Linked DNA regions of Homo sapiens: all the other regions are linked to region 1. Evidence: promoter capture Hi-C in 16 types of primary human blood cells and fetal thymus (Javierre and others, 2016). All regions are on one chromosome and are shown on one strand. The core of a region is centred on a gene start or on the middle of the fragment in contact, and the rest is flanking DNA. Distances in the headings are between cores, read along the strand shown. Region 1 holds the start of CCNL1 (cyclin L1). Region 2 overlaps KCNAB1 (potassium voltage-gated channel subfamily A regulatory beta subunit 1). Region 3 overlaps KCNAB1 (potassium voltage-gated channel subfamily A regulatory beta subunit 1). Region 4 has its middle 27 kb from the start of SSR3. Region 5 has its middle 46 kb from the start of TIPARP. Region 6 has its middle 30 kb from the start of TIPARP.

Evidence for each region. Contacts are between HindIII fragments. The CHiCAGO score rates a contact against its expected background, and 5 or more counts as called.
Region 2: a fragment that was not itself captured here is called in contact with the fragment with the promoter of CCNL1 in region 1 in 2 of 17 cell types (total CD8 T cells and non-activated CD4 T cells); the score reaches 7.8 in total CD8 T cells.
Region 3: a fragment that was not itself captured here is called in contact with the fragment with the promoter of CCNL1 in region 1 in 7 of 17 cell types (total CD8 T cells, naive CD4 T cells, total CD4 T cells and 4 more); the score reaches 13.2 in total CD8 T cells.
Region 4: a fragment that was not itself captured here is called in contact with the fragment with the promoter of CCNL1 in region 1 in 3 of 17 cell types (M2 macrophages, M0 macrophages and M1 macrophages); the score reaches 10.0 in M2 macrophages.
Region 5: a fragment that was not itself captured here is called in contact with the fragment with the promoter of CCNL1 in region 1 in 1 of 17 cell types (M2 macrophages); the score reaches 5.4 in M2 macrophages.
Region 6: a fragment that was not itself captured here is called in contact with the fragment with the promoter of CCNL1 in region 1 in 2 of 17 cell types (M2 macrophages and fetal thymus); the score reaches 8.3 in M2 macrophages.

The regions. Positions count from the first base shown.
Region 1 is chr3:157,158,523-157,161,736 of GRCh38, reverse strand. CCNL1 (cyclin L1) reads left to right here and starts at 1,590. Exons shown (of 11, transcript NM_020307.4): 1 at 1,590-1,945; 2 at 2,258-2,332; 3 at 2,762-2,871. The coding sequence starts at 1,643. RefSeq lists enhancers at 729-788, 809-858, 946-1,675, 2,309-2,378 and a silencer at 1,959-2,168. The HindIII fragment of the contact is 11,903 bases long and covers 1-3,214 here.
Region 2 is chr3:156,505,498-156,508,711 of GRCh38, reverse strand. All of the region lies in intron 8 of KCNAB1 (potassium voltage-gated channel subfamily A regulatory beta subunit 1), which reads right to left. Among named protein-coding and RNA genes, the nearest start is that of SSR3, 48 kb to the left of the region's middle. The HindIII fragment of the contact is 803 bases long and covers 1,107-1,909 here.
Region 3 is chr3:156,522,713-156,525,926 of GRCh38, reverse strand. It overlaps KCNAB1 (potassium voltage-gated channel subfamily A regulatory beta subunit 1), which reads right to left. Exons shown (of 14, transcript NM_172160.3): 12 at 1,980-2,100. Among named protein-coding and RNA genes, the nearest start is that of SSR3, 31 kb to the left of the region's middle. The HindIII fragment of the contact is 2,013 bases long and covers 509-2,521 here.
Region 4 is chr3:156,580,073-156,583,286 of GRCh38, reverse strand. No RefSeq gene overlaps it. Among named protein-coding and RNA genes, the nearest start is that of SSR3, 27 kb to the right of the region's middle. The HindIII fragment of the contact is 1,610 bases long and covers 671-2,280 here.
Region 5 is chr3:156,626,627-156,629,840 of GRCh38, reverse strand. No RefSeq gene overlaps it. Among named protein-coding and RNA genes, the nearest start is that of TIPARP, 46 kb to the left of the region's middle. The HindIII fragment of the contact is 3,731 bases long and covers 1-3,214 here.
Region 6 is chr3:156,642,705-156,645,918 of GRCh38, reverse strand. No RefSeq gene overlaps it. Among named protein-coding and RNA genes, the nearest start is that of TIPARP, 30 kb to the left of the region's middle. The HindIII fragment of the contact is 2,400 bases long and covers 254-2,653 here.

The DNA.
Region 1 (3,214 bases), core at 341-2,840:
GTGGTGGTGTGTGCCTGTAATCCCAGCTACTGGGGAGGCTGAGGTGGGAGAATCGCTTGAACCCCGGAGGCGGAGGCTGCAGTGAGCCGAGATCGCGCCACTGCACTTCAGCTTGGGCGACAGAGTGAGACTCTATCTAAAAAAAAAGAAAAAAAAAATCAACTGATAACAGGCGATTAACAGGAGAAAAGGGATACATAACACCGGGGTAAAAGCAGGAGGATGATTACCCAGTAGCTTAATGGAGTACAGAAGATTTTATATCTTTTTTTCATAGGGGAAAGGGTAGATGAGAAATGTAGACATTTATTTTGAGGAGCAGCAAATGATTATTAGGAACAATGAATGGACAGAAATTAGTAAATAATTTTCTTTTGAGTAATCTTGTGAAAAAGTCCCTCCAGGAATGGCTGCATTTCTGAGTCTTTTTGAAATAGGATACGAGATTTCAGCGAGGGGAGGAATGCGATTGATTCTTCTACAAAGAGGCTTCTCTAGTCAGGAAAGGAAATTTCAGAGAGTACCTCCCTGCACTTGGGAAAAGTGGGAGCAACAAGTCAAGGTTGGGGGACCTGCATTATGAGGCAGCTTCTAAAGCCTCTGTCTTTGGGGTATCGCTTTCTGAGCGTCAAGAGTAAAACGTGATGCATTCCTTTCCTTCCAACCTAGATTCTAGTAGTTTAGATCAGTATCATTGTTTTTACTTCAAGGTTCAGGAAACGCTGGAAATTGCTAGCTAATATCACAGGAAAAAAAACAAAAAACACGAGGTTGACCTCACCCTACCCGCGGTAGGTAACCATGTATGAATAGAGACTCCCAGGCATAATCAAATTACCTCTGTCAAGTCCTCGCCCTAAGACTATTTTTGGAAACTAGGGATTTTCCAGATTACTGAAAGCCGTGGCGGTGTCAAAGGCCGGGCAGGAGTTTCGCAAGCGGAGCTATGAAAGCAGCCACTCTCGCGGTCATTCCTATGCCTCCGCCCTACTTCCCCATACTGGCAAAAACACGCTCCCCGGGGAGCTTTCATTTGGGAACCGATAGGGTCCACAGCCCTGTGTTCTTCAAATACTGTAAAGCAGCCCTCTCCAGATTCCTTGAGGGTCACTTTATATTACACATTCGTCCACACAGGACAACAAAGTCACCACTTCCACCCGCCAAAGCGCGCTCAGGTCGGCCGCCACTTCCCTTGGTACACGCGGAACGCAAGCCGCGCCGAGGCTAAAGGAAGAGGCCGGAATGCAGGGCGAAGGGGCGCAGAGATGCTAGCCAATGCTGCCACCTCTATTTTGGGTATAAGGGATCTTGTAAAGCTCCGTTATTCGTGTGGCTATCACAAACAAGGTGGTTTCGACCGGCCTTGGCTAGAGAAGGCCTCCTCAGCCTCTGAGGATCCCAAGGTCTGTCGCAGCACCCAACACTCCCCTCGCAGGCCCAGATGCCGAGGGCGGAGGCGCGGCCTGGAGGGACTAGTTGGCGCGCGGCTGCCCGGCGTGGTGACGTCAGGGCGGAAGCGCACGCGGCGTGAAGCGGCCCAGAACCCGGCGGTCACGGGAATATCCGTCGCGCCGAGAACGCTGGTTAGTCTTGTTTCGGGTTCCGGCTGCGTTGGGCTTGCGTGCGGCTCGCTAAGACTATGGCGTCCGGGCCTCATTCGACAGCTACTGCTGCCGCAGCCGCCTCATCGGCCGCCCCAAGCGCGGGCGGCTCCAGCTCCGGGACGACGACCACGACGACGACCACGACGGGAGGGATCCTGATCGGCGATCGCCTGTACTCGGAAGTTTCACTTACCATCGACCACTCTCTGATTCCGGAGGAGAGGCTCTCGCCCACCCCATCCATGCAGGATGGGCTCGACCTGCCCAGTGAGACGGACTTACGCATCCTGGGCTGCGAGCTCATCCAGGCCGCCGGCATTCTCCTCCGGCTGCCGCAGGTCAGTGCTCCGGCCCCGGGCCGGCCGGGCGCTCCTCTCCTCTCCTCCGTCCCCTACGCCGCATCTCAGTATCACCGTGCCCCGGGAGGGTGGGGACGGTTCCTTCAGGCTTTCCCGTTCGGGGCCCAGCCGCGGCCGGGGCGTGCCGGGGCGGGGGGCTGCGGAGGCGGAGGGAGGACTTGGCAGCGGGCTGTTCGCAGCGGCGGCGGCGGCGGGAGGGGAAAGGGAAGCGATCGGCGGCACAAAATGGCGGCGGCGCCTGGAGCGGGCCCGCCTGACCCCTGCGCTTCCGTTCTCCTCTCTTGTCTGCAGGTGGCGATGGCAACGGGGCAGGTGTTGTTTCATCGTTTTTTCTACTCCAAATCTTTCGTCAAACACAGTTTCGAGGTAAGCACAGCGGAGGCGGGTAAAAGGGATTTCTTCATCCGGAAATGGGCAGAGTAGGGGTAGTGTCAGCAGCCAGCTTTTCCAGAAAGGGAGTGGTTTAGTTTAGGCCTTTGTACCTACTTCTCACTCGCCAGGAAGTGGAAACCTTTAGAATGTGGTTCAAAATCGATCACGAGCCTAAGTGCCCTCTTAACGAAAAGTACAGTTTTCAACCAAATGCAGAACTCCTGTAAGATTGAGTTTGACTCTGGAACCAAAATTAAGATGAGTTAAACAACAAAAAGTATAGTACTAGCATAGCTGGTAGACTTACGGCATAGAGATGTCTTCTCTAATTTTACTAAAGGTTGTCCCAATTGTGTTCTAAATTTTATTCTTCAAAGTGAGTTTAATCTAACAATGGCTTTTGTGGCTCATGGGTTCTTTCAGATTGTTGCTATGGCTTGTATTAATCTTGCATCAAAAATCGAAGAAGCACCTAGAAGAATAAGAGATGTGATTAATGTATTCCACCACCTCCGCCAGTTAAGAGGAAAAAGGTAAGATTGGCATTATTGAACATAGTATCTCTTGCTACTGCTGTACCGTGCACCAGTCATCAAATCAAAACATCTTTCCTTTCAAGTGAATACGGATGCAAAAGAAAACGGACTTTAATTTAGGTGTTAAAGTTCATATAGGAACACTGATACTTAAAATAATTTGAAAAAAGAAACATAATTAACCGGTTATCTAAAGTTTGTAGAGGCAGTTGCATTTATGGACAATCCTAACAGTGCTGTGAAGCCAGGCCTGTGGCTTAAGATTAAACAAGAAAGGGAGTACATTTGGCTCAAGTGTGAGTGTATTCTGTAAGTTATTTTTCCTCTCCCCTCTCTGGAA
Region 2 (3,214 bases), core at 259-2,758, 650 kb after region 1:
ATGGATGTTGTGAAATTCTTTCAAAGCTTGACGTGGGATAATGGGTGTAGAATAACTTGTGAATTTGAAACAGTAACACAAACTGAAAATGGCCCAGGTTTCTTCTCAAATAGGCCCAGATTCTAACATTTTGGGGACAGTTGTTTCAGTAATGTAGGCCATCAATGTTTTAAAAAATATGCATTTTATGTCAAAGAAATTAATACAACTATTTGTTCTGAGTGAAAACAATTTTGGTTGATCAATATTTTAATTTTCTAAATTGGATCACATGCCAAAAGTGGTAGCTCACATTAAACTTTTTTTCCTGCAAAATGTTCCCTAGAACTTTGAAAGTTGTAAGCAAATAGTTGTACTGCATGAACAATAAGCCATAGGGGTAAAGATAAAAATATGCTTATTAGAAATTAATGTTTTGATCAGATAAAATGTACTCAAATTAATCTGGCCACAGAGATAAAAGCAAAAGATAAAAAAGATAAAAGCAAAAGAAGCCTTAGAGGTAATCCAGTGCAGTTCCTTCTTATTCTAGATGAGGAAACAGGTTAGGAGTGAAGTTTTTAGGCATAATTAAAAGCTTGAATATTATTAACAATTATAAATATTTTAAATATGCTTGCAAAATACTGAGAAAAAACATGCAAAATAATTGTATTATTTAGTGGAATTACATGCAATTTTGTTCTTAATTTTTCACATTTCCAGTAAATATGTTATACTTTTATGTAAAAAAGAAGAATGATTATCTAACAAGCAAAGGCACCACTTTAGACACTAACATATTATATATTTAACCAAATAAAATTGCTATTTTTAGAGCCCCATAATAGTTTAATATTGACAGTATCCTATGGTTCAACCCAGCTGATATCAGATTTTTTTTTTTAAGAGGCAAGGATCAAGATGGAGGCTACAACACTGGTATAATGCAAGAATTTGGTTTCATCAGAGGAGTTGCTGTTAACACTAATAAAAAATAGGCCTAGACCTAGGCACAATTTTTACTTCAGGTCAGCTGTTTGTGATTTATCTACCTTAAGTTGTTTATTTATTTAACTTCAGAAGCTTGTGGTGGTGGTGGTTTATAACTGTACTGCTTTGAAGCTTAGAGGAATCATCTTGAATCTTGATCAGTCCTTCATATTCTGAGCTGCAGAGAATCCTCTCAGCTTGATGCCTGGAGATAGAGGACTATCATTCTTCAGAGGACTGGAAACTTATAATCATAAATGAAATGATGTCATCCTTAGTATGGATCATGAGTCACATATCTTAAAGGTTTGCTGAATGTCTGAGGACAGCCTGGTTCCATTTGCCTTACAGAGCATGTATTAGGATGCAGGAGACATTGTTTTTTTTTGGTCCCATCACAGTCACTAACCTTTGACATCTCTTGTCCTTGCTGAGATCTCAGTTTCTTCAATGCAAATGAGCAGATTGATATTAATTAAGCATATACTTAATCTTGACAGTAACTGTTTAGGTGGGAATATTTGAATCCCATTTTGTTGAGGAAGAACCTGAGACTCAGAAAGATAAAATCACTTGGGCCAGGTCTCAGCAGATAGTCTATAGACCCCATCTAGCTTTGAAGTTCTGTGATCTGTCATCGTGAGAGGTTCTTTGCATAATGCATTGATGGAGAAGATGGTTTGGGGAGAGAAAACTAACAGAGCATTTACTTAATTCACCTCATTGTGTGTTTGTGAACATGTGATGCCTTGTGTGGTTATATCCATCCATCCCTTTGCATTTAATACACAGATGGCTATAGTTCATGATGAGTATAAATGACTTGGGAAATATGAGCTTTCTTTTTGTTTTTTTTCGAAGAAAAACTAAAATCTGATGACTCTTTGAAAAGAGAGGCAAAAAAAGGGCTGGTGTCTGCATCTGATCTGTCAAAGCTTAAAGAAAGAGTGGTCTTCACAGGGCAGTTTATAGGGAATATGCTTTCTGGATCAGGGCACTGGCCAAACTGATTCTGAATCAGAACAGAACAGATTCAAGAGACTAGAAAGGAATTCATGCACTGAGCCAAGTCAATAAAACCTCTTCTATCTGGAGAAATTGAACCTTCTTCAAAACTCCGACCCAAGAATGGAGCTTTATGTCTCTGAAGGCAATGCATTTTCCTCCACCCTGTAGCTACCCTGAGAGAACCCTCCCTAAAGAGCACATGGTCCTCAACCTCTCCTCTCTGCCACACACTGGTTTTCCCTGACTCTAGACAGTTTGAAGTGAGCCTTTGATATTGCCCAAATATGATTTCAGAACCTTATTCTAAAATGTGAAATAGGTTATTGAAATGGGACACTTTTAGTCTCACTTTTAGCTCAAGTCCAAAGGCTCTGAACAGCAACTGTTGTTTTTAAGTACCCCTGAGTTCCAAAGTGAAGCACTAGACCACCTATGCAGGAGACCATGGTGAAAAATGTTTGGTCATCTTTAGCCCAGCCTTCACCTTGAAAAAATAAATGAGTTAAAAAGAGAAGCCCTTTTAGAACTGATCAATAAATTCATTAAGGTTGCAGGACACAAAATCAACATACGAGAATCAGTACCATTTCTATACGATAACAACAAACTAGCTGAAAAATAAATCATGAAAGCAATATCATTTACAATAGCCACAAAAAATTAAATACCAAGTGATATGGTTTGGATGTTTGTCCTCTCCAAATCTCATGTAGAAATGTGATTCACAATGTTGGAGGTGGGTCCAGGTGGGAAGTGATTGGATCATCAAGTGGATCCCTCATGAATGGTTTGGCATCATCTCCTTGGTGATAAGAGTTCTCACTCACTCAGTTCACATGAGAGCTGGTTGTTTAAAAGAGTCTGGGATCTCCCTTTTCTCTCTCTCTTACTCCCTCTAGCCTTGTAATACACTCCCTCTCCCCCTCTTAGCCTTCCACCATGATTATAAGCTCCCTGAGGCCCTCACCAGAAGCAGATGCCAGCACCATGCTTTCGGTACAACCTGCAGCTCCATGAGCCAATTAAACCTCTTTTCTTTATAAATTACCTAGCCTCAGGTATTTCTTTATAGCAATGCAAAAATGGCATAATACACCTATAAATAAATTTAAGAAGGTAAAAAATCTCTACAATTAAAATTATGAAACTGATGAAAGAAATTGAAGAGAACACACAAAAAATAGGAAGACATCTCATGTTCACAAATTGGAAGAGTTAATACTGTTAAAACGAC
Region 3 (3,214 bases), core at 266-2,765, 640 kb after region 1:
GCACTTAGGCTACACTAAATTTATTTTTAAGATTTTTCTTTCTTCAATAATAAATTAACATTAGCTAACTGTAACATTTTTACTTTATAAACTTTTAATTTAAAAAAGCTTTTGGTTGGGCACAGTGGCTCATGCCTGTAATCCCAGCACTTTAGGCGGCCAAGGCAGGCGGATCACGAGGTCAGGAGTTAGAGACCAGCCTGACCAACATGGTGAAACCCCTTCGCTACTAAAAATACAAAAATTAGCCAGGCTTGGTGGTGCACACCTGTAATCCCAGCTACTCAGGAGGCTGAGGCAGGAGAATCGCTTGAACCTGGGAGACGGAGGTTGCAGTGAGCCGAGATCGCGCCACTGCACTCCAGCCTGGGCGACAGAGCGAGACTGCGTCTCAAAACAAAAAACAAACAAACAAAAAAACCTTTGAACTTATTTGTAATAACATAGCTTAAAACACAAACACATTGTACAGCTGTACAAAAGTATTTTCTTTATATTGTTATAAGCTTTTTTTCTATTTTTAAAAAGTGTTTTTTTAGCTTTTTAAACTTTTTTTTTTTTGTTAAAAACTAAGACACAGACACACTCATTAGCCTTGGCCTACACAGGGTCAGGACCATCACTATGTTCCACCTCCACATCTTGTTCCTCTGGGAAGTCTTCAGGGGCAGTAAAACACATGGAGCTGTCATCTCCTGTGATAATAATTCCTCTTTGGGGAATACCTCCTGAAGGGCCTGCATAAGGCTGTTTTACAGTTAACTTTTTTTTTTTCCTAGTAAGAAGGAGTAACACTCTAAAGTAAAGATGAAAAGTATAGTATAGTAAATACATAAACCAGTAACATGGTCATTTATTATCATTATCAAGTATTATGTACTGTACATGATTGTGTGTGCTAGACTTTTATATTACTGGCAGTGCAGTAGGCTTGTTTATTATACCAGCATCACCACAAACACACAAGTAATTCATTGCACTCGGACCTTAGGATAACCACAACATCACTAGGCAATAGCAATTTTTCAGCTCCATTATAATCTTATGGGATCACCTACATATATGTTGTCCGTCGTTGACTGAGACACCCATGATTGAATGTGGTTCATATTATCTTTCTCTCAAACAGTGGATGTGGTTTGGGGTTTTCTTTTTTTTTTTTTTTTTTTTTTTTTTTTTTGAGATGGAGTCTTGCTCTGTCACGCAGGCTGGAGTGCAGTGACGCAATCTGGGCTTACTGCAAGCTCCGCCACTCGGGTTCACGCCATTCTCCTGCCTCAGCCTCCCAAGTAGCTGGGACTACAGGCACCCACCACCACGCCCGGCTAATTTTTGGTGTTTTTAGTAGAGACGGGGTTTCACTGTGTTAGCCAGGATGGTCTCGATCTCCTGACCTCATGATCCGCCCACCTTGGCCTCCCAAAGTGCTGGGATTACAGGCATGAGCCACCGTGCCCAGCCGCGTGTGGTTTTCAATTGTTACCAGCAATCATGACCTTTCATGGACTCCACAGCATTAGAAGAACAACGTTTATGGCCTTCAAGAACTTTCAGGGTGAAGCTATTTCTCTAGGATCAGCTTTTCATGTGGCAGTAGCCTTGGGCCTGTCACAGCCCTGTATCTCATCTTCTCACCAACCCTGGTTTAGTTTTCAACAGACAGAAATTTGAGCCAGAAGAAATGGATGTCACTACACAGTTCACCCCTGACATCTGTGATAGTGTATGTTATCACTGACATGTTCTCATTTAAACTATGTTATAAGAGCAAGGAGAAAGAAGTAAGAAAAATTTGCTATCATGTAGAAAATTCTGGGGAACCTCAAATAACTCACTTTATATTTAGCAGGAGTTTATGCTTCAGAGATCATCTGTCCCTGCAATAGACATTTTATCATGGTAAGGGTGTGGTCAGCAATAGAAAACTATGATCTCAGCAGAAGTCCCTCTACCACCCCATAGCTTAGTAATTTTCTTACCAACAGCTAGCTGAGGTAGTGTGCATCCCAGACGCTCCGCAATTGGGGAAAGGTCTTTTAGCTTGTTTTGCTGTTTTCTCCCTTCTTCACTTACAATTCTTTCTTTCAACCACTGGTAGCACTGGGGAAAAGCATAACATTGAAATGTTAATGTCTGGTAAAGATCTGATGTCAAAGAATGGTAATTCAATAAAATATGTGAACCTCATAATGATTTTCTGAATTTTTTGACCCTTATGTTTCACACTGACAGGGATGATTTCATGCAAAGAAATGTTCCTCACGATCTTGCTCCTTGTTTATTGGTTCAAAACAGATTGATTTTGACTAATATTCACCATTCAAATTGATCAGCCTGCACAGAAGTTGTTATAACCCTGACCGTGACATACAAGCACTTAAATCCTAGCCTGTCCAATAGAAGAAGTAACGTTTTTTATTGGGATAGCCCAACTTTAGAATGTAGCAAAAAAAAAAGTACATTTACAACTTACCAAGATCTATTATGTCTCCTTTTTATTAAGAAAGCTGGGTGCCAAGCTTTCTGCTCAAAGAAAACCACTATTTTACATTTTTGTTTAACTATTTTTCTCCCCCGTGCTTTCAATTCACTGCTAATCTCTTATTCTTTTTATAATGGGGCTTTGTTGTTAGCTTCTGCAGCTTCTTCCTAGAAGCAGACATGGCATAACTGATAGGTACTGAGTTGGTTTTTAAAATTTTAAAGTAGATAAAGACTTTGCAAATGTTATTACCTATTGTATAACTATTGAAACTTAAAAAAGTAAAGAAACTCAAAACAGGAAACTATTCTTTAAAGCCAATGAGAAGAAACTGACCCTGATCTATAGACTACAAAATGAACCTAATTTCCTAAATATAAAGATAAAAATCTTTTAGAACTTCTCAATGCCTTAGTTTCCAGAAGGCTCTGCTCTTACTATGAGAAAGGGAACAATAGACTCTTCTACATAAAGCGAGCACTTAAGCAGCAACACCCAGGGGAAAAGAGTATTTGTAAGAGTGTTAGTCTGTTTTAGGGAAAACAATTAAAAATCATCACACTGTGTGGTAATGTGGACTTTCTCTCTTGCGTGTAATTGTGACATAATACATAATAGCCATCGCAGATCTTTATCTTCCCAGAGACCGCAGAATGCTCTGCAACAGGCAGTGGGCCATGGACACTGCACCCACATGATTTCAATAGGCTGCTGGCTTTTGTTTTTTGAGCA
Region 4 (3,214 bases), core at 226-2,725, 580 kb after region 1:
TACCAGAAAATTAGTGACAACAACAACAACAACAAAAAGCTGGCCTAGCAATACTAGTACTAGATAAAAATGGATATTAAATTAAAAGTATTTCTAGGAAACAAGATCTTATACAGACAATGAAACTACTTACCAAGACAGTAGGACAACCATAAATTGGTTTGCCCTTAACAACAAATTTGTTGTTGTGGAGGTTTGGTGGAAGACTGGGAAATTGGCTCATTCAAAATGACTCAACCTTCTGTTTGTCATGAAAAAGACTACATTTCTCAGTTTCCCTTGCATCTAGATTCTTCACATGACCGAGCTTCTGCCAAGCAGAGATTTGGAAGATGAAAGCAACTACTATGAGCTGGTGGCCACAGGTTCTTCTGGTGGCCGGAAGGGCAGTAGAGGTGCTCAGTTCTCTAGGGACAGTGATTGCAGGAGTTCTCAAATTCTGGTGGAGTATTGAAGTGGCTAAGTGGCAGGCAGTGGCTGGCCATGGGGTTTCTGCATCATTGTGGATGTTTCTCCTGACTGCTCACAGTCCGAGTAATACCCAAGCTTGGCTCCCCAGCTTCCCAGAAATTCTGTAAGCTAACTTGGATCTTGTAATAGTCCTGTTCTGCTTAAACTAGCTGGAGTGTATCACAATATGACATGGTATGAGCTGTGCTAGAGGTAAGCTTCAAGCACTATAAGCACGTGTGGGATTCTAAAACTCTGAGTGGGGGCAAGTATAGAATCCTCATAGGCTTCTTAGAGCAGGTGATAGCTGCAATATGAGCTGAAGTATGAGTTGGAATTAGCGAGGTAGAGGCAGAAAGACTAGGAAGGCTTAGAGAAAGAAGGAACAACATGTGCAAAGGTGGAGCCCAGAAGTTACAGAACTCTAATTAGTTCAGAATATCCCTAACACAGGATGAGAGGTACAGAGTGATGAAAAAGGAGGCTGTAGCAGTGGCAGGGGTAATTCACAGATGGCCATGCATGCCAATTTGTAGAATGCAACTGTTGTTTTTCTTGTCTGCTCAGCACCTTGGCTGCTTCTGCTCTAATCTTCTGCTCCCCTCTTTCCACTCCAATACACACACATTTCCTTTGGGAAACTACTGCTTCTCCACTCCAACAGGTGATTCTGATGAGCCTGTCAATCATGGTACCCTCATCTCTGATGACAGGAAAGGGCTCTTGTTCTAGGTCTGACCACTCCTGGTAGCCATTCCTATGAGTATGGTGATTGGTCTAAGGTGGGGCTGTGTGTCAATTCTGACCTGTCAGAGTCTCCCTGGGGGATTTTTAAAATTTAGGACTGGCTCACAGATTTGTGAATTCTGGTAGCCATTATCTGCCATAATCCTCCCTTAATCTCTAAGGAGAAAGTCTGTCTGTGATGGAAGAGACTTATGTAAAGTAGAAAAAAGTAACAATGAGAAATGGAAGAGGAGATATGAGAGACAGAGAGTTAGTTTTAGCAAGGACAAGTCTCAGAATCTAGGCCCTGACATGGCTACCCTAGTTCCTGTAGCCCTTATGTCATGCTGATCAAAGCCTGACCAACATACCTATTTATAATCAAGTTACTCATAGAATTTGTTTATGCATATTTTAGTAAACATTTCTCCTCCTCTTTTCCCTCTTGTTCATTTTTGGTTATTGTATAATATTCTATTGAATTTAAATATCTTTATCTAACTATTAGGTTATTTCCTGTATGTCAAACATTGTTGGTTTGGATTTGGACAGAAGATGAGGAGAGAGGATGTGGCATAGTGTTTGTGAGCTTCAGCGAATGGCATAGAAAAAGGAATGGAGGGGAGAAAGTACACAGCATGTTTAAGGATTAACAAATAATCCTGTTCGGCTGGAGTTGAAGAATGGTGGGAACAGAAATAGCTGTAAAAATACAGTCTCTGCTGCATAGTGTACTAATGATAGGGTAACTGAACATGAAAAAAGGTGTGCAAATTTGTACTATATTTATTGCTAAAAAAAAAATAAGGAAGTTGTCATGGACAAAATCATGGGGCAGCCACATGGAAACTCCAGCATGCTGTTCTAAGAGCTACAAATTACAAGTGTTGGAAAGAATTACTATAACTATAATAATCTGACTCAGCATTGTGAGGACTTCTTTTCGTTCATTCAGTTGATTTTCTGTAGTTTGAAGGAGTTCTTAAATTCTGGTGCTACTGTCAAAGTGGCGAAGTGGCACGCAGTGGCTGGTCATGGGGTTTCTGCAGGATGTTGGATGTTTCTCCCGGTTAGGTTGTTCACAGTCCAGGTAATACCCAAGCTTGGTTCAAAACTACAGAAAATCTACTGAATGCGCTAAAGGAAGATTTGAGAAAATGAAGAATAGTTGACCAGGTGAAAAGACTAAATTTTATACAACTGTCAATTATTAAATTGATAGATTTGGTTGCAGTGTGTGTAGAAGGGTGTGGGTGGGGTGCTTTTTCCCTACTCCTCTGGTTTTCATGAGGAGAGATGTTGTGAGAATATAATCTGTCATAAAGTAGGCATCAAAATCTACGAGTTAAATCATTATTTAGTAAATGATACTGAAACAATTGAATACATGTTTAGGAAATAAATCAGAATAGATCCTCATTTTATAGTTAACATCGTACCAAATCCAATATGGAGTAAAAAGAACATAACAAATCAAATTTAAAATACCAAGATGAAAAAATATATGCCTTTGTAGTAGTTGTAAGTGAGAGGAAGTAAAAAGGGATCGGGGGTAGTTTCTGAACTTGAAAGTGTTGGAAGAAATGTAAAAAAGAAAAAAATAGTGCACTTGACCACACAAACATTATAAATTTCTATAAGTGTTTTAGTCTTTTAATTAAAACATTCTCAATAAACTTAGAATAACTTTTGCATCAATATGAAAAACAGCTTATTATGTAAAATGCTCATGCATATGAATTGAAATCAGCAAAAACATAATTTCTAAACATCTACCCCAGGCCAGGTCTGTGCTGGATACTTTGCAAACATTCAGTTAAAAAAACACTTCAAGGTGGATGTGTCCAGTCAACCCAGGTAGAAACTCAGGGTCAGAGTTATATAGGGGTGTGCATAGTAATTCACCTAATGGAGCATCTTTTGTTTTTTCCTACGAAATAACTGTTTCTTCCTAGCCCCACCGCAGCCAGGTTCATAATTGAACCCTGATTCCCTGCAGGTACTTTTTCCCTGTGTTCAAGGGAGTCTGGCCTCCTCC
Region 5 (3,214 bases), core at 472-2,971, 530 kb after region 1:
GTAAAAGGTACTTGGAAATTTGACTCTGTATAAAGATTTTGTTCAGCTGCAAGCAACATAAATTTCTACTAACAATGGCTTAAACAAGTAGGGTTTTTCTTATAACTAGAAGTCTGAGGGTAGGTTACTGCTAGTATTGGGCAGCATCGCTGTGATTTTCTTGGACTTTCCACAAGTGTGTTTTGCTCATGATCCCAAAATGGCAGCTGAGGCTTCAGGGACTACCTACCCCCAAGACTGTAAGGAAAGAAGAAGCAGAAGTGCATGATGTGTGTTCCCTTGTACCAAGAAAGCAAAAATTTTCCCAGAAACCACGTTTTCTCAGTAGAACTCTGCTGGGTGGCATTGGCTTGAACTGGGTCACACAGCCACCTGTTGTTGAAGGAAGGCTGGGAAATCAGGGAACAGGCTTATCATAATGGACTTAGACTAGTGCTACTCAAACTCTAGCAAGCATTGAAATCCCCTGGAGGGCTTGTTAAAACACTGATTGCTGGGCTCCACCCCCCAGAGATGCTGATTCAGTAGGCCTGGGTTTGGACCTAAGAATTTGTATTATTTAAATATCTCAGTTGATGCGGATGCTTCCGGACTTTAAAAAACACTTTGAGAGTCACTGACCTCCACCAATGGCTCTCAACCCTGGTGGTGCATTAAAAACATTTGGAGAGCATTTTTAAAGATACCGTTTCCTGGTCCCACCCCCAGATGTTCTGATTTAATTTGTTGGTGGAGTCCAGGCTTCCGTATAGTCAAAGCTCTCCAGGTGATTCTAATGGTAGCAGAACTGGAAACCACAGTTTTAGGCCAGTCATGATTTCTTATCTGGGACTATTATCAAGGTTCTATTAGCAAACAGAAGGAGAAGTGGGTAATAGGCTGCAGCAGGTTCAGATAGTGGTTTCTGAACTTGATGCACTTTTGAAGCACTTGAGAATCTTTTTAAAAAATCTCCACTTTAGTACATACTCCAGACACTTAAATCAGAATCTCTGGGGGTGGGACACAGGCATCAGTAGTTTTTGAAGCTCCTCAGATGATTCTAATGTGCAAACAAGTCTGGGAACCCCTAGGTTAAAAGAAGATTGCTGCAAAGCTGATTATATTTGAAAACTATTTAAAAGGAAGGTGTGAAGGGATGTTATTAGTATTTGGATTGTAAAAGAGAAACCTGAAGATTAATGTAATTATGTAAGTACCAAGATAATTTTATAAAAGAATGGTGTTGTCCCTCTGAAGAACAGCGAGGAGGAAATGGGATCAACCTGGTCAGAATCCTTGGGTTAGATGTAAAAAGAAATTTCCTAGCTGCAAATTGTTGCAATGAAATGTGGTATGGTAGGAATGTGGTTGTGCAATCCTGTCATTGAAGAGCTATAAAAATAGTATAGATTCTCACCTGTTTAGAATGTTTTAATGTCATTCTTTCTGAAGGTGAAGAGGTGAATGAAATGACCTATCTAGCTTTCGTCTTTGAGAATTTCCTCTTTTACTCCTCTTCTCATTTCACATCTCAACTTAAAAGGCAGACCTCTGCATTAGCAATTCAAAGAAAACATAACCTTTGCCCACCTATCTGCTTGAATGGATAAAATATCTGACAGCTAGTAATAGGTTGAGATGCCACTAGCTCAAACTGCTTAGATCTCTAAAAGGCTATTTTGAGCTTCCGGATGACAAATATACTGCCAAATAGAGAGGGCCTTCCACATTTGATTTGAATAGGTTCCTGTGTTTAAAATGTAAATGCTGTACTTAAGGATGATTCACTACTGTGTCTGGGTCCTGCTACATGCGTGCACACACAGAAAACCAAAATAGCTATTTTCATGCCACATACAAATAACATGTGTATAAATATAGCTACAACTAAAATGTGTTCTTTGTACATGAAAATGTCACTGGCTTTTGTGAGTAGGACATATCGTCTGAGTTGTCTTTGTCTTTTGCGATACCGATAATGAATCTTCCCTGGTCACATGTAACTTTATTACCAGTAACATTCACTAGTTCAACTGCTGAGATGTCAATGGCACAGGAAAAAATAGGAGCCCATCAATGGAGCAAAACAACACTCAGTGGATCTTATCCACACTACTTGTATCTTAGGTTGAAGATCCTGTGATAGAGTTAAGGAAAAGATTTAGGAGTGTTTCCCCCCCTTTAGTCCAAACTTTTCCTGCAAATCAGAATCATTATGGGGGGCTTTTAAATACCCTAATGTCTAGGTTCTATTTCATACCAACTAAGTCAGAATGATTGGGTGTGGAAGTCAGGCATCATTAGTTTGTAAGATCCCAGTTGATTCTAATGTGCAGCAGAGTTTGAGAGCCACTGCCTTAGCCACCTTCATTATGAGATCTAAAAACCTCTTATAGAAAGAATTTCTCTTAGGTCTCATGGTCAAATGTAGATATAAGGATTAGGTAAATTTTCCTCCCTGCTGAGTGTGACAGAGATTAATTATTCTTGAAGGTTTATTCCTCCTAATTCCTCCATCATAAGAGAATGTCTAATTTTTAGCTGCCTACGTAGCCACACAGAATAAAGACCACTTTTCCCAGCCTTCCTTGCAGGAGGGCATGGCTGTATGTTTCAATTCTGACCCATGGGATTAAGTGGAAGTGGTGCATATTCCTGACAATCATTAAAGAGAAGGTATGTATTCTTCCACCCTTCCACCTTCTTGCTAGCTAGAATGCAGATGTAGATGAAGCTCCAACAGGCAATTGGTCACTGAGATGACTTTAGAAGAATGGAAGCCACACAAAACAAAGAAAGTAAAAGGAGTCTTGTTCCCCACACCAAGCTCGATACCAGCTCTAGAATGACTATTCTGGGCTTCTTAATGGGGGAGAAAAAGAAACTAGTTTATAGCACTATTTCTGTTCATTATAGCTGAACCTTATTCTAACAGACTCAATGGTTCTCAAAATTTGGTATATATCAGAAATATCTACAAAGTGAATGAAGCATATTCAAGTAGGTGATTCTGATACCTAACCAAGTTTGAAAACAACTGTACTAGATATCCTTAGGAGGTAGAGAGCACACATGATGAGGGTAAAACTTAGAATTCAAAAAGTAATGAGTGATTAGAATCATTTGCAAAAGTGAATCTACTAAATAAAATATTCAGCAGTACAGTGTAGTGGTTAAAGACTTTGGTTCAGGAGACAAACAGAACTAAGTTTAAATCCTGGCATTGCCACTT
Region 6 (3,214 bases), core at 204-2,703, 520 kb after region 1:
AGCTGAGGAAAGAGATGCCTCTTCCAAGAGGAACTAACCAGTAAACAAATACATGGAAAGGATTTCATCCTCACTAGTGGTAAAAGAAATGCAAATTAAAACAAAAATGAGGACTATTTTGTGTTTATTAAAGGGGCACACAACTCTTTCAATGTCACCACTTGATTATGAGTTGTTTTTTCAGTGAAATTATTATAATCTTAAAGTGTTGTTGATACTTCTTGTAGGAACTATGTGTAACATATAACAAGCTTGTATGGGTTAAATCATACTGTTTAAGCCTCTACTTTCCCGAAAATGAACCATGAGCTTGTCCCAGCATTCCAGTGGGGCTGCTGCAGTGGCTGGATACATTTCTGATGGAGAAATGTCTATCTCAAATGTAAAAGGTGGGAGGCTGTGGGTGGAACCTTCAGAGTTCCTTAGTCACTAGAAGAAATAAAAACCTCCTCATATCCAGGGTTTTGACCTTTGATCCTACCTCTTAGAATAGATTCTGAACAAGTAATTCGTAAGGGAAAAAAAGCCAAATAGACAAAGATTCGCTGCATTATTTCTTATAGAAAAGATTATGAAATGTATGTTGGACAACAGGAAAATAATGTAAAAGATGATGTAGCTATTAAAATGTAGATTACAAGGACTACACAGCAACATGGAACATGCTTCTGAAATTGTATTAATTGAAAATGGCAGAAGGCACCCACTGTGATTATCCACAATGGCTAGAAAAGATCAGGGCCAAACAAAAAGTTGGATTTGCTGAGGTGACAAGATTGTAGGCAAAAGTTTTCTTTCAGTTATTTAGATTTATTGTGTAATACAGACAGAATATTTATGTAATTAGAATTTTATTTTCAGAGTAAAAGAGAAATAGGATACTGTGACCCTTTCCTACTCTTATTGGAGGCTTCAGGATTTCACTATAATGCAAAGCTCCAAATCAAGCTCAGTTTTGGTATTTTCTGATAAATATTAGAAGCTCACTCCTAATTTGAAATGGTCAGCCTTTTTCATAGGATGGTTTATGTGTAGATAAGTAGCTCTTACATTAATCCAATTAACTTGGAAGATTGTAGGCAGGAATGTACACCAATCATAGTGTCCACTTGTTAAATTTTTTAAATTACAGGACAAAGCATAGGAGAAAATGGCATTTTAAAATTATGGTATTCACATTTAAAAAATACTCAATATATTTTTGTTTTCAACCATGTTTCAGGTGATGAATCTCTACATTTAAGGCAGTGGATTTAGCTGTAAATCTGAAACAAGAAGTGCACAATTTCACCTGTGTTTCCAGACTTCTGGATGCTCTTGTAGTGTTTTTATTGTACTTTTTTCAGATCAACAATTGGACCCATTGCATTATTTTTAGAGATGCTTCACCTGAAAGGCGGTCTGGAGGTTGAAGAAAAAAATATTCAGCATATTATTTGGAAATATAACTAAAATATTGTTTAAAACAAATTCATCCTATGTATCCTCACTATTTTGAACACACTGTCTTACCCTTAGCACTGTATCTATCTCATCAACAGCAAAAATAGAAAAGCCAGACATAGTCTTCTATACTGGGGGGATGGCAGAGCAGAGCAAGGGAGGAGGGGGAAAATAAACCATAACTTCTTGTGGCTGTTCTGGCTGAGGAAAGTTAGGTTTCAACAGCAGGCTTGAAATGAGTTATAGGCTCACTGATGGAGGGGGATGGGTTGAGGGGAGGAAACTATTTTCTGCTCTGGGCTCCCACACTCAACAGGGGAATGGGAAAAGAGTTATGTGCCCTCCAGTACCTCCGAGAACAGCTTTCTTAGTGTTCACCTACTGAGCTTGAGGCAAATTTTCAAGATAGATGATCTAGTTCCTCCTCTCTGTTTAGTGGCTGCCCCTACCCTCAGAGATAGCTGTGCGGAAACCGCATGAGTGTGTGTGTAAGTGCAGGCACGCATGTGTTTGCGTGGAAGGTGGGAGTGGTAGCAGAGGCAGGGGAATGAGGAAGGAGAGGAAAATCTCAGAGAGAATAATGAGGCTGTTGAGTGTGGGAGCCCAGTGCAGAAAATATTCTGGTGCTTGAGAGAGAACAGGAAGGAGTGTGTATTTGTGTATGTTTCTTTTCTTAGATCGTTTCATTCAGGAGGCATCTCCCTGGAGACTGAGGAAATTGTAGGAGTCCCCTGGGGTACTGTCAGCTCTACTTGCTGAGCTTCTGGAGAAAGAGTGAAATACTAGGTAAAGGAGATGCCTCCAGCCGGCTTCCAGGCAGAGGCAGTACTGAGAAGAAGGTGCAGGGAGGTGAGAGGGACCCCTGCCCTGAATAAATTGGAGATATTTCCAGATGTGCTCCCTCCCCACACTCAGCCTCGCTGTGCTAGCTCTCGTCAGGAAGGACAGTAGGATTGTACCATGACTCCCTGAAGCTCTAGGTTGGCAGGAGGGATGCTCCTCACGGTATGCGCTCACCTTCCTTGCTCTGGCCATAACCACTAAGCCTCCCAGCTTCAAATAAGAGCCATTCCTGTGACAACTGCTAAGTCCAGGGAGTGGTTGGAGGGCTGACACTTTCCCTCCTAGGGACTTCAGAAGCCCTGTGGTCTGCCAAAGACTGTCCCTGGCCCTCTGTCCATTCTCCCGAAAGGACTGCCTGCCAGAAGCTTAGAACCAGCAGCCACTAGGGCAGAGGAAGCCTGTGAGTTTGAAATGCCTCACCACACATTTGCAACAGCCTTCTTTGCTACTCTTTTTCATTGCAAATGTGAAGTAATCCATCTGCATTCTTGCTTCTGTGGTCCTATTTATATCATTGTTTCTGGAGAAAGTGTGCTCTATGTTGCAAAAAACAAAAAAAAACCCTGATAAACAAACATCTGAAACACAGACTCTTTAAAGAATAATGTCTTGTAGCCTCTGGGAATGCCACCTATTTACTAAAACAAACATGTCTCACGCATCCTATGCCAGGCTTTGAAACACTGTCAGTGCTTTCATAAACTGGGTCACTGCGGCTAGTGCTCTGGGATGTACAATGACAGGGCAGGAAGTGCCCTTGAATTACACAGTGAGACCCTCTAATTCTCTTTCCTTCTGATTACAACAAGGAGGTTGTTTCAGTTTGGAGCTGATGGATTTGAACACCTTTCCAACACTTGCTTGTTACTATTATTACTGTTTTAACAGGCCATATGTTCAGAGCTTTTTGGCAGGTTTCTGGCTAGAA